Regions from separate parts of the Homo sapiens genome. Here all the other regions are linked to region 3. The links are contacts of gene promoters, found by promoter capture Hi-C in blood cells and fetal thymus (Javierre and others, 2016). All regions are on one chromosome and are shown on one strand. Each heading gives the region's core, a stretch centred on a gene start or on the middle of the fragment in contact. The rest is flanking DNA. Distances are from core to core; before and after follow the strand shown.

Evidence for each region. The method cuts DNA at HindIII sites, captures the fragments that hold promoters and counts their contacts. A CHiCAGO score of 5 or more calls a contact.
Region 1: a fragment that was not itself captured here is called in contact with the fragment with the promoter of PPL in region 3 in 6 of 17 cell types (erythroblasts, endothelial precursors, megakaryocytes and 3 more); the score reaches 8.6 in erythroblasts.
Region 2: a contact is called between the fragment with the promoter of SEPTIN12 here and the fragment with the promoter of PPL in region 3, in 2 of 17 cell types (endothelial precursors and M1 macrophages). The highest score is 6.0, in endothelial precursors.

The regions. Positions count from the first base shown.
Region 1 is chr16:4,723,112-4,727,047 of GRCh38, forward strand. It overlaps ANKS3 (ankyrin repeat and sterile alpha motif domain containing 3), which reads right to left. Exons shown (of 18, transcript NM_133450.4): 4 at 3,868-3,936; 5 at 3,548-3,669; 6 at 1,639-1,720. Among named protein-coding and RNA genes, the nearest start is that of ANKS3, 9.2 kb to the right of the region's middle. The HindIII fragment of the contact is 332 bases long and covers 2,169-2,500 here.
Region 2 is chr16:4,786,961-4,790,811 of GRCh38, forward strand. SEPTIN12 (septin 12) reads right to left here and starts at 1,385. Exons shown (of 10, transcript NM_144605.5): 1 at 1,320-1,385; 2 at 520-707. The coding sequence starts at 685. It also overlaps a transcript of SMIM22 not described here. The HindIII fragment of the contact is 19,587 bases long and covers 1-2,272 here.
Region 3 is chr16:4,935,132-4,938,992 of GRCh38, forward strand. PPL (periplakin) reads right to left here and starts at 2,017. Exons shown (of 22, transcript NM_002705.5): 1 at 1,853-2,017. The coding sequence starts at 1,914. RefSeq lists a silencer at 1,960-2,359. The HindIII fragment of the contact is 7,029 bases long and covers 1-3,861 here.

The sequences.
Region 1 (3,936 bases), core at 1,085-3,584, 210 kb before region 3:
AATTCATCAGGACCGCCTGCACTTCCCCCCATTGGGTTTAACAGCCTTATAAAGATATAATCCACATACCAACAAGTCACCCACTTACAATGTACAATTCAACGGCTTCTCGTATATTCACAGTTGTTCAACCATCACCACAAACAATTTTAGCACATTTTTATCACCCCAATCTTCCCATTCCCCAAGACCCAGGAAACCACTCATCTATTTTCTGTCTATGTATTTGCTTATTCTGGACATTTCCTATGAGTGAAATCACCTAGTGTGTGGCCTGTTGTGTCTGGCTTCTTTCACTGAGCCGAATGTTTTCCTTTTCTTTTTCTTTTTGAGGCAGGATCCACTCTGTGACCCAGAATGGAGTGTGGCGGCGCAATCATAGCTCACTGCAACCTCCAACTCCAGGGCTGAAGCGACCCTCTGGCCTCAGCCTCCCAAAGTGTTGGGATTACCGGCGTGCGCCACCGCACCCAGCCCAGCCTAACGCATCAGGGTTCACCCCTGCCGCAGCATGCAGCAGTACTGCATTACTTTGTAGGGCCGAATAATATCCTGCTATACAGATATATATTTTGTTTATCAATTCCTCAGTAGATGGACTTGTGGGTTTTTCTACTTTTTGGCAATTATGAATAATACTGCTATGAATATTTATGTACAAGGTTCTGTGTGGACAGGCTTGCACCTGTGATCCCAGCACTTTGGGAGGCTGAGGTGATCGCTTGAGCTCAGGAATTCAAGACTAGCCTGCACAACATACTGAGACCCCCAACTCTACCAAAAAAAAAAAATTAAATAATTAGCCGGGGCATGGTAGCATGCACCTGTAGTCCCAGCTACTTGGGGGCTGAGGCAGGAGGATCGCTTGAGCCCAGGAGGCTGAAGCTGCAGTGAGCCACGATCTCGCCACTGAACTCCAGCCTGGGATACAGGGCAACACCATGTCTCAAAAAAATAAATTAATAAAATAAAACAGAAATACAACATACAGAAATAACTGCAAATGTATTAAAGCTATGTGTAAAAGGATATTCCCGGAACACTGTTTATAATTGCAAAATGTTAAAAACTAAGTTTCTACTAATAAGAAACTCATTAAATTAACTGAGGCAGATTGTACACGGAATACTGTACAAAGATAAGATGTCTATAAGATGTCTCTAAGTTACAGACTATACGTAGAATCCCACTTTGTTCAAAACACAAAGCAATGTGCACACACTTGCCTACAGACACATCTTTCCACAGCAGAGGAAAAGTCCTAGGGCAGCTCTTTCTCAAACCAAGTGGGCATCAGGGAGGTTGAAAAAGAGAGGAGGATCTCTGCCTTCTTATTCTATATAATTTTTCTAAGTGACAGGATTATGAGTGCTATTTACTTTTAAAATATTTTTCCATAATTTTCAGATAGTATTTTCAAAATTATTACAGGAATAGGTGTCTATTTCTACTCACCACTGTATCCTTAATGCCTAAGCACCACTCAACACCGGGCGTCAATAGATAATGAAAATGTGTTGAATAAATGAATGAAAGTTATTTCTGTGCAAAGGAAAATTCTGTAATAGCTTATACTTCAGTAATATGATTCCTCATTTGCCGTGACTACATTACATGCTAATAATCAGGGTCACTTACGTGATTCAGAAAATACTGCACGATTATCTCATGGCCAGCAGCAGCTGCTTCCATCAAGGGAGTAAATCCACATATCGGCTCCCTGCAAGATGTGGGCCACAGTCAGATGATTGGAAGAGACAAGTTCCGCCAGGCAAAAACTCCCTGCTGAAGATAAACCCTGAGCAGTGCACGAGTCACCGATCCCTAAGCGTAGAACACTGTCCCTTTCCAGAATTAACAGGTGACATGAGAACAGTGAATATAACACATCAGCTCCATTTACTCTTCTGGTGTCTGTCCCCAGGGCTGGTCTTTGTCCTAAAGACAGATGTCTGCCTGTCGTCCCACCTGTTGGCTATTCCCACTGGCTACCTCTGAAATCTCCACCTCAATCATATTCAAAAAGCTGTTCTAATTCCTCACAGAAAGCCAGCATCTCCCATCCATTCATCCAAATCCTGGCTTCAAGTTCAACGTCCTCCATGAACCCACTCTGAAAAGTTCAAGTACTAATGATCTAAGCTATCTTTGCCACGCTTAGCTCCTGAAGCTTGCTTTTCATGCTTGGTTATGCTAACTCGGCACTGTCTTCAGAGGGCTTCCAAATCCCTCCTTGTCTCATGCTGGTTTGGAAGTCAGGAACCATGCATGGGAAATGCTGGTTTTCATCCATCTTAAGACACACAGTGTTCATATTTTAACATCTCTCAAGTCAGAAAACATCTTTAAATCAACAGGCGAGTTGAATGTTAATTAGTAGCATATTTTTTCTTTCTTAGTGGCATACAAAATTATCAGGTGTCTTAGAATGAATGACAGCCAGGGTGGGTGCTGCATTGGTACCCGCTGCGTTTGTTCAAAGGTGATTATTATCATGACAAGCTTTAGACAACAATCCCACTTCCAACTTATAAAACTCATGACTGGTTTTTTGTTTGTTTTTGAGACAGAGTTTTGCTCTTGTTGCTCAGGCTGGAGTGCAGTGGCACGATCTCTCAGTTCACTGCAACCTCTGCCTTCTGGTTTCAAGTGATTCTCCCGCCTCAGACTCCCGAGTAGCTGGGATTACAGGCACCTGCCACCACGCCCAGCTAATTTTTGTATTTTTAGTAGAGACGGGGTTTCACCATGTTGGCCAGACTGGTCTCGAACTCCTGACCTCATGATCTGCCCGCCTTGGCCTCCCAGAGTGCTAGGATTACAGGTGTGAGCCACTGAGCCCGGCCAAAACTCATGACTGTTGTTTTTGTTTTTTTTTTTTTGAGATGGAGTCTTGCTCTGTCACCCAGGCTGGAGTGCAGTGGTGCAATCTCGGCTCACTGCAAGCTCCACCTCCCGGGTTCACACCATTCTCTTGCCTCAGCCTCCCGAGTAGCTGGGACTACAGGCGCCCGTCACCATGCCCAGCTAATTTTTTCGTATTTTTAGTAGAGATGGGGTTTCACCATGTTAGCCAGGATGGTCTCGATCTCCTGACCTCGTGATCTGCCTACCTCGGCCTCCCAAAGAGCTGGGATCACAGGCGTGAGCCACCACGCCCGGCCTCATGACTGTTTCAAAGCATCACCTCACCTCATCCATACAAAAAGCAAGAAAATGGAAGGAATTTGCATGTAATGTATGACATTTAAATGCCATTCAGTATGTTAGGCCCCTGGCATACAATAAAACATGTAATTCTTACAACTGTATGACCCAGGTGGGTTTCAGATAAAGAAAAGGAAGCTGAGAGGGCTTGAAGAGATGCATCTCACAGATGTACGAAAAGGCCTGTGCCTGGAAGGACTCTGGTCCTACCCCTCATCTTGAGCCTCTCGTGCCGAAGCAGGGTGGCCCTAAACTCTGGTTAGCTGCCTCCAGAGCCACCCTCCTTAGAGTCAGATGACACCTAGGCCACTCCTGTGGCCACTAAAGATGTGGCAATCACCTCACGTTGGCATTGGCTCCACTGTCCAAGAGGAACCTGACCATGTGCTGGTGCCCGGCGCTGGTACAGTGGAAGAGGGCTGTCCAGCCCTGGATGTCTTTCATTTCTAGCTCTGCACCTTGCTTCAAGAGAACACAGAACGTGCGTTACGGCCTCATCTCCTCTGCGTGGGGCGGGCGCCCTCCAGGCGGCCATGCTGCAAGAATCAGAAGTGATTACACGAGCACACACGAACACCGTGGCCTGCAGTGGTTCGCATCTCTGTCAGGGTGGCCACGGAGCCCCTCAGGTTTCTGGGCCTGAGTTCCCTCGTAGCTCACCTGGAGAAGAAAGTAGGCGATGCTCTCGTTGCCACAGCTGGAGGCCAGCATCAGTGGAGTCTGCCCTTC
Region 2 (3,851 bases), core at 135-2,634, 150 kb before region 3:
GCCTCCCAGGTTCAAGCAATTCTCCTGCCTTAGCCTCCTAAGTAGCTCCTAAGTACAGGCGCCCACCACCACGCCTGGCAAATTTTTGTATTTTTAGTAGAGACGGAGTTTCCCCATGTTGGCCAGGCTGTTTTCGAACTCCTGACCTCAAGTGACCCTCCTGCCTTGGCCTTTCAAAGTGCTGGAATTACAGGCTTGAGCCACCATGCCCGGCCTCATTTTTGTACTTTTTGTAGACATTAGGTTTTGCTAGTCTCAAACTCCTGAGCTCAAGTGATCCACCCACCTCAGTCTCCCAAAACCCTGGATTATAGGTGTGAGCCACCGCTCCAGGCACATTTTTGTCTTTTAATGACTCAGCATTTCTCAAATTTTCAATGACAACATCCCTGTGAGGTGCTATTATCAGGCCCACCTAAGAGATGGGGAGGGGCGACAGGCTGCCAAAGGTGAGGCCACACGCCCAGGCACGCGTAGCACTGTGGGTCTGTCCTGCCGTGGGCCCTACCTCTCACTCACCCACCACCATGATGTTGAACTCAAACCCCATCTTCATAGCCTTGATCTTCAGCTGGTCCAGCACAGCCTCAATGCCCACAGGACCAAGCATCTCGCAGGGTGGGGTGCTGGGGCTGGAGGGCTGCGAGGACAGGCAGGGAGAGGGGGAGCGCCTCAGGGGGTCCATGGGGGCCAAGGGTTCGAGATGCCTGTCACCAGGTGGGTGGGGAGAAGGGGGTCACTGGGGCTCAGAGGAGCCCACATTGACCTCTCCTATCTGAACCCCTATTTGAGCTTGGCCGTTGGCCAACCCCCTCCACACTTCATGCCTCTGGTGTACCCTAAGTGCCTGTAGTCCCAGGGGTGTGGCAAGGGTGCCTGTGGGGAGCTGTTTCTGCAGGGTGCCTCAACACCCATCCAGAGAGGCTCCGCTGCCCAAGGGTCTGCCCTGTCCCCACCTACAGCCCAGGCAGGGGCCTCTCAGGTCGCTTCCCCCAGCAGAGCCTGGAGGGCCAGGCAAAGTCCAGGATGGGTGTTTGCAGCCAGGCTGGAGTCCTGGAGGGGCTTCAGGGAGTGTGTATGGGGTGAAGTGGCTCCCGTCCCAGCAGGAAACTTGGGCAGGGGGCTCAGGAGGAGGTGCCCCCACTTTCCCCAGGGGGACACACAGCAGAGTTGATAGAGAGCGAGAAAGACGGCACAGGCATGAAGGTGACGGAGACAGAGAGAGAGAGACCAAGGTCAGGCAGGGAAGATGGCTGGGAGGGAGCGGTGCGAAGAGCCCACGGGGGGCAGAGAGAGAGAGAAGCAGCCTGCTGTGACACCTGGTGGACGTGGGTCCTGGTGGAGCTTCCAGGAGCTGCCTTGTCCTGGCAGGGCCTGGTGTGTGTGATGGGGGAGGGGAGAGGGTGACAGTTAACCGAAGAATCTGAGCTCCATCTGCACTTGCTGTGACCCCCACCTGGAGGCTTCTCTGCAGCAGGAGCAGGAGCTGTTACCCTTCTAATCCCCACAATGACCCCAGCCTAATAATACAATAATCCCCAAGTAGAACCAGGGGCCCAAGGCCCCCTCGTCAGCTGGGCTCCCACCTCCAAGCTGACGCCCTCAACCACTCTGCTGGGGTGAGCAAACCCAGGCCCCACAGCTGGCTAGCGGGATATCCGTGTCCACGATTGGCGCCATGTGTTTTAAGTTGCAGCGTCAAAAACATGAAGAGATTGCTTTAGCAAATATTTACCCAGTCCTGACTCTGCACATGGCATCGTTCTAGGAGCCCAAAGATGTTAACTTGTTTAATAATCAAGCCCTGTGAAGTAAGTGCTGTTACTACCCCAAGCTGATAGATAAGAGAGGGTCAGGTGAGGAGGTGGCAGAGTCTCTGCCGCTCTGAGTCTGTGTGCTCACCCTCTACTGCCTTTTTCTGGTTTACAGAAACATCTAGATTTCCGGTGTATCTTAGAGGTTATCACCCTGACTTGAGATGCCCTCTTTAAATAGGCCATGTGCTTTCCAGACTGTGGTCCTCACCCCTGCCTTACTGTCTCTCTGATAAGCTGTTTCTTTTTTTGTTGTTTGTTTTTGAGACAGCCTCGCTCTGTTGCCCTTGCTGGAATGCAGTGGCGCGATCTCGGCTCACTGCAACCTCCGCCTCCTGGGTTCAAGCAATTCTCTTGCCTCAGCCTCCCAAGTAGCTGGATTACCGGTGTGCACCACCACGCTAATTTTGTATTTTTAGTAGAGAAGGGGTTTCACCACATTGGTCAGGCTAGTCACAAGCTTCTGACCTCAAGTGATCCACCAACCCTGGTCTCCCAAAGTGTTGGGATTAGTGAGCCACCATGCCTGGCCTTTTTTTTTCTTTTTTCCTTTTTTTCTTTTTTTTTTTGAGACGGAGTCTCGCTCTGTCACCCAGGCTGGAGTTTAGTGGCATGATCTCGGCTCACTGTAAGCTCTGCCTCCCGGGTTCACGCCGCTCTCCTGCCTCAGCCTCCCGAGTAGCTGGGACTACAGGCGCCTGCCACCACGCCCGGCTAATTTTTTCCTATTTTTAGTAGAGACTGGTTTTCCCTGTGTTAGCCAGGATGGTCTCGATCTCCTGATCTCGTGATCTGCCCTCCTCGGCCTCCCAAAGTGCTGGGATTACAGGCGTTAGCCCCTGCGCCCAGCCCTTTTTAAAATTTTTTTGAGACACGGTCTCACTATGTTGCCCATGCTGGTCTCAAACTCCTGGGTTCTAGTGATCCTCTCACCTCAGCCTCCCTAAATGCTGAGATTACAGACGTGAACCACCATGCCCAGCCTGATAAGCTGTTTCTTATACCAAGTCCATCTCACACAGTTAATTCTTTCTTGTTTCCTGGTACTTGACTTCACAAGGCTTAGGCATTCCTGTGTCCTTGCTATTGGCAAATGTTTTCTCTTTCTTTTTTCTTTCTTTTCTCCTTTCTTTTCTTTCTTTTTTTTTTTTCTTTTTTGGGACAGGGTCTCACTTTGTCACCCAAGTTGGAGTGCAGAGGCACAATGACAGCTCACTGCAGCCTCGACTTCCTGGGTTCAAGTGATCCTCCTGCCCCAGCCTCCCTAGTAGCTGGGACTTCAGGTACGTAGACCATGCTGGGCTAATTTTTTTACTTTTTGTAGAGATGAGGTCTCCCTATGTTGCCCAAGATTGTCTTGAACTCCTGGGGTCAAGGGGTCCAGCTGCCTCAGCCTCCCAAAGCGCCACCACACTCAGGCTGGCAAGTGTTTTCTGTAAAGGGCCAGATGGTCCCTATTTTAGGCTTTGCTGGTCCTAAGTTCTCTGTTGCAACTACTATGCAACTTTTCATTGCAGTGAGAAAGTCGCCACAGACAATAGGTAAACAGATGGGCGTGGCTGTGTCTAAGTAAAACCGTATTCACAGAAGAAAGGTGGCCGTGGTTCCAGCTTTCCTGAGCCCCAGGCCGACTTCTGCCCTTTGCTGTCCACTACCTTCTGCCAGTTCTTCCTTCTGGGGAACTCCCGCTCCTTCCTGGAGGCTTAACCTTAAAGGCTTAGAGGCTAGGGGTCAGCCAGGTGCGTTGACTCATGCTTGTAATCCCAGCACTTCAGGAGGCCAAGGTGGGCAGATCACTTGAGGTCCGGTTTGAGACCAGCCTGGCCAACATGGCGAAACCCCATCTCTACTAAAAATACAAGAATTAGCTGGGCTTGGTGGCGGGCACCTGTAGTCGCAGCTACTTGGGAGGCTGAGGCAGGGAGAATAGCTTGAACCGAGGAGGTGGAGGTTGCAGTGAGCCGAGATCGTGCCATTGCACTCCAGCCTGGGCGACAGAGTAAGACCCTAGCTCAGTAAATAAATAAATAAATAAAT
Region 3 (3,861 bases), core at 767-3,266:
CAAATCTTTGCCACCCCAGACCCTCCCAGTCCCTGCAGCTATAAAGGATGGGATGCCTTTCATCCTCATGCTTCTGGGAAAGCCCGCACCCCTCCCAGCTTGTCTGGGTTCATTAGAACCTTTTGTTAGGTCCAAGCTGGGGCCTTCAGGATGGAGAGCTGCACGAAGGAGGGAGGCTGGGAGGAGGCAGAGGGCGGGGCGAGGCCTGGCCCCACCACTGGTATGTGGGTGTCTGCATGTGTGAAGGACTGGATGGGTCTAGTCTCTGGGGTGGAGAGGACAGAACGGTTCTCCACGGCTGGCACGGAGCATCCAATTGTGCAATGCCCCAGGGAACAGTGCAGGGACTGGACGGGCCTCTGGTTGGGTCTGAGTGCCAGCTGGACGCAGCCATGGAGGAGGGGTGTGCAGGCCCTGCCCAGTCTCTGGGGTTGTGAAAGATAGGGGAGGGGTGGGGAAATCTCTAAAGGCGGGTAATGCCTCTGAGCTTGAAAGAGCCCAAACGGAGATACGGGTGGGTGGGATCACAGGGCAGGGGGGTTTCTGAAAGGGCTGGAAGGCCCCGGAATGGAGTGTCGCACTCCAGCGTGCTAGGGCCCCGCCGCCTGCACCTGTCCGACTGGTCGGCCTAGGCCGGACTGCAGGGGTTGAGTGGGAGCCCTGGGCCCAGAGGCCTCTCCTTGCCTAGGGAAGAAGTGAGGAGCTGCTTGAGGGCACAGTGGGGGCTCCCAGTGAGAGCAGCTTGGGGGCAGAACTCCCAGACAGGAGAGCCATGTAATGTGCGGGCCCCTCACCTGCCTGAAGCCTCTTGTCCGAGAAGCTGGCAAAATGGTCCTTGCTAGCCCAGAGCCCCCACTCTATTTTCCGAAGTGGGGATATAAGGCAGGGGCTGGATTCCCACCCCCTCCGTCAATCTCAGCATCTCCACCAGGCTCCCCTAAACCGGTTATTAAGTGAACACATTAGGCTTATCAAAAGGGACGTGGGCTGCTTCTCCCTGCAAACACATCAAGACATGCCATTCCCCTCCCAGGCCGCCCTGGGAACCCGCGGCTCAGAGACGCCGCCAGTTTCGGGGCTGGGGTGGGGGCAGGGAGCCACACCCCTGCGAAACCGAGCTTCGAAGAGGAGGCCCCGAAGCCGCCCAACCTCCGCTCAGAACCCAGAGGGTGGGGAGGTAAGGGGGTGCCTCCCCCTGTGCCCCTCGACCCGACCCCACACCCCCCAGGGCCTCCGGGCGCGGCTCTGGCGCGCAGGGTGGCAGGTGCCGGGAAGTGCAGCGGCGGGTGGCCCGCCCCCTCCGGACACCCATCCCTCGCCTCCCCGACGCCAGGAACACTTGCGCGGTCTCAGAGGCGCTGGAGAGCGCCCCCCGACGCCAGCTCAGTTTCCCTGCCTCAGGGCGCCCCCTGGACGGAGCTTCCTGGGTCGCCCGCAGCGACCCCGCCTTGAGTGCCCGGTCCTCCAAAAACTCCGCCCCCTCATCCAGGTGACTATTCCCGGTCCTGTGCGACCCTCTGCGCAAGAGCGACCCTGGGACACGGGGGTGCCCTGTACCCCCAGCTCAGCTGCCCGTGCCCTAGGCCCTCAAGGCAATGCTCCCTGGGCTCCCGGAGTCCCCTGTGTTATGCTCCCCCTCGGGGACCCCAGCCAGTCCCTTCCCACCTGGCGGCGCTTCCCAGCTTCAGGGTGGCCTCGGTCCCGCGTTCCCGAGAGTCCCGCACTCCGGGTTCAGTTCCCGGTTCCTGGACCCCCGTACCCCCCATTCCTACACTGCCCGGGAGGTCTTCCAGGTCCTGTGCGCCCACAGGGGCAAGAGCGTCCCGGAGCGGAGCTGTGGGCGCCTCCTCACCTCCGGGTCTGCACAGTGGGGCTGTATTTGCCTTTGTTTCTCTTCCTGAAGAGCGAGTTCATGGTGGCGCTCGGGGTGCGGGCGGCGGCGGCTGGCGGGCCGGGCGCGCACCGAGGGGCGGGCGGGAGCGCAGGTGAGCGAGCGGCGGCGCGGGGAGCCCGGACTGCGGCGCGGCAGTGGCTCCGGGTCCCTACTCGCTGGGGGCGGGGCGCCCGCCGGCCACTGGCTCTGCGGGCCGCTCCCCGAGAAGGTGGTGCTTACCTTCCCGAGGAGGGGCCACCGCGCGGGCGGGGCTTGGACGCGGGGGTGGGGACACTGGGTCTTGGCCGGACGCCGCCCACCCCCAGCCGGGGGACTCCGGAGGCCGGGCAGGCACTGGGGCGCAAAGGCCGCCGGGGCGAGCGCTCGCAGCCCCACCCTCCTCGGGCCCGGCGCGCCTCTGGCCGAGGCCTTCACCTGGTTCTGCGCTACCGCGGAACTCGGCGCTCCTGGTGCTTTGGCGGACACCCAGCTGGGCCCCGCAAGACAGGTGCGGCAGAGACCCGCACGGATTCATGTGCCCTAGTAGCTAGCGAATTGCACTCAGATGGTGGCAATTGAGGGAAGGGGGCTGAACTGCCGAGGGCGCCGGCCTGAGTTCAAGCCCTGCCACCCCCAGGTTGGCTGACACTCCTGGGCAAGGTGTTTTACTGCTCCCAGCCACAGTTTACTTCTTTGTCAAACGGTGATAACCACCACCCCATCCGAAAGGCCTGTGGGGATGTCCCTGCAGGTAATGCACGCAAAGCGCTGAGCGCAGTGCCCTGGCCTGAATCTGCTCTCCGCTTGCCATCTCGGGTGGACAAAAACTCCTTTGAAACTTCAATAACTCCAGGCCCTGGCACTAGAAGAGCGCTTCATAGCTGGTCATAAAAGCTGCTCGATTGCGGCTCAGAACAACGACGTTGCACAATTCTGCCAGCATGTCCTGGCCCAGACTGTGTGCCAGTGGAGGAGGCTGCCCTTAGACAGAAACCTAATCTGACCTGAAGCCCGGATGGCACACACCACCACACCTGGCTAATTTTTAAAAATTTTTGTAGAGGCAGAGTTTCACCATGTTGCCCAGGCTGGTCTTGAACTCCTGTGCTCAAGTGATCTGCCGGCCTACAGCCTCCCAAAGTGCTGGGATTACAGATATTAGCCACCGTGCCCAGCCAACCTTATTCTTAATGGGGCTTCTATGGGTGGGCTTAACCCATTTATGCCTGAGGTTGCAATTTTTTGAATTGATAAATCATACCTTGGCAGTGACCTTGAGCAGTAGGAGATAACTCCCACAGGCGTCACGTTCCAATAATGGACCACTAGGCGTAAATAGAGGTGTGATTCCTCCTAAAGTTGTGCCTGCCTGCCTGCCTTCCTTCTTTCCTTCCTCTCTCTTTCCTTTCTTGCTTTCTTGCTTTCTTTCTTCTTTCTTCTTTGAGACTCAGTTGCCCAGGCTGGAGTGCATTGGCACAATCATAGCTCACTGCAGCCTTGACTTTTGGGGCTCAAGCAATCCTCCCACCTCAGCTTCCCGAGTAGCTGGATCCACAGGTGTCCACCACCACGCCTGGCTAATTTTTAAAACCTTTATATTTATATATGTTTTTTGTAGAGATGGGGTCTCGCTGTGTTGCCCAAGCTGGTCTTGAATTCCTGGGCTCAAGCAGTCCTCCCACCTTGGCCTCCCAAAGTGCTGGGATTTCAGGTGTGAGCCACTGCACCCAGCCCTAAAGTTGCTTTCAAAATGTGTGTGTCCAAATGTGCATTTTTCTGGGGGAGGATGTATTGCTCAGTGGAGTCATTTACTCATTCAACACATGTTTCCCATCACTCTCACAGCCTCAGTGTGCCTGGCTCTGCTTGTTGTACACGGATGAGAAAAGGGAAAAGAACAACACAAAAGGGGCTTTCTCTTTGGGAGCTTTCAGGTCCCGGGGCAGGGGACACATATTAAAAATGTTAACTTGGATGGGCGCGGTGGC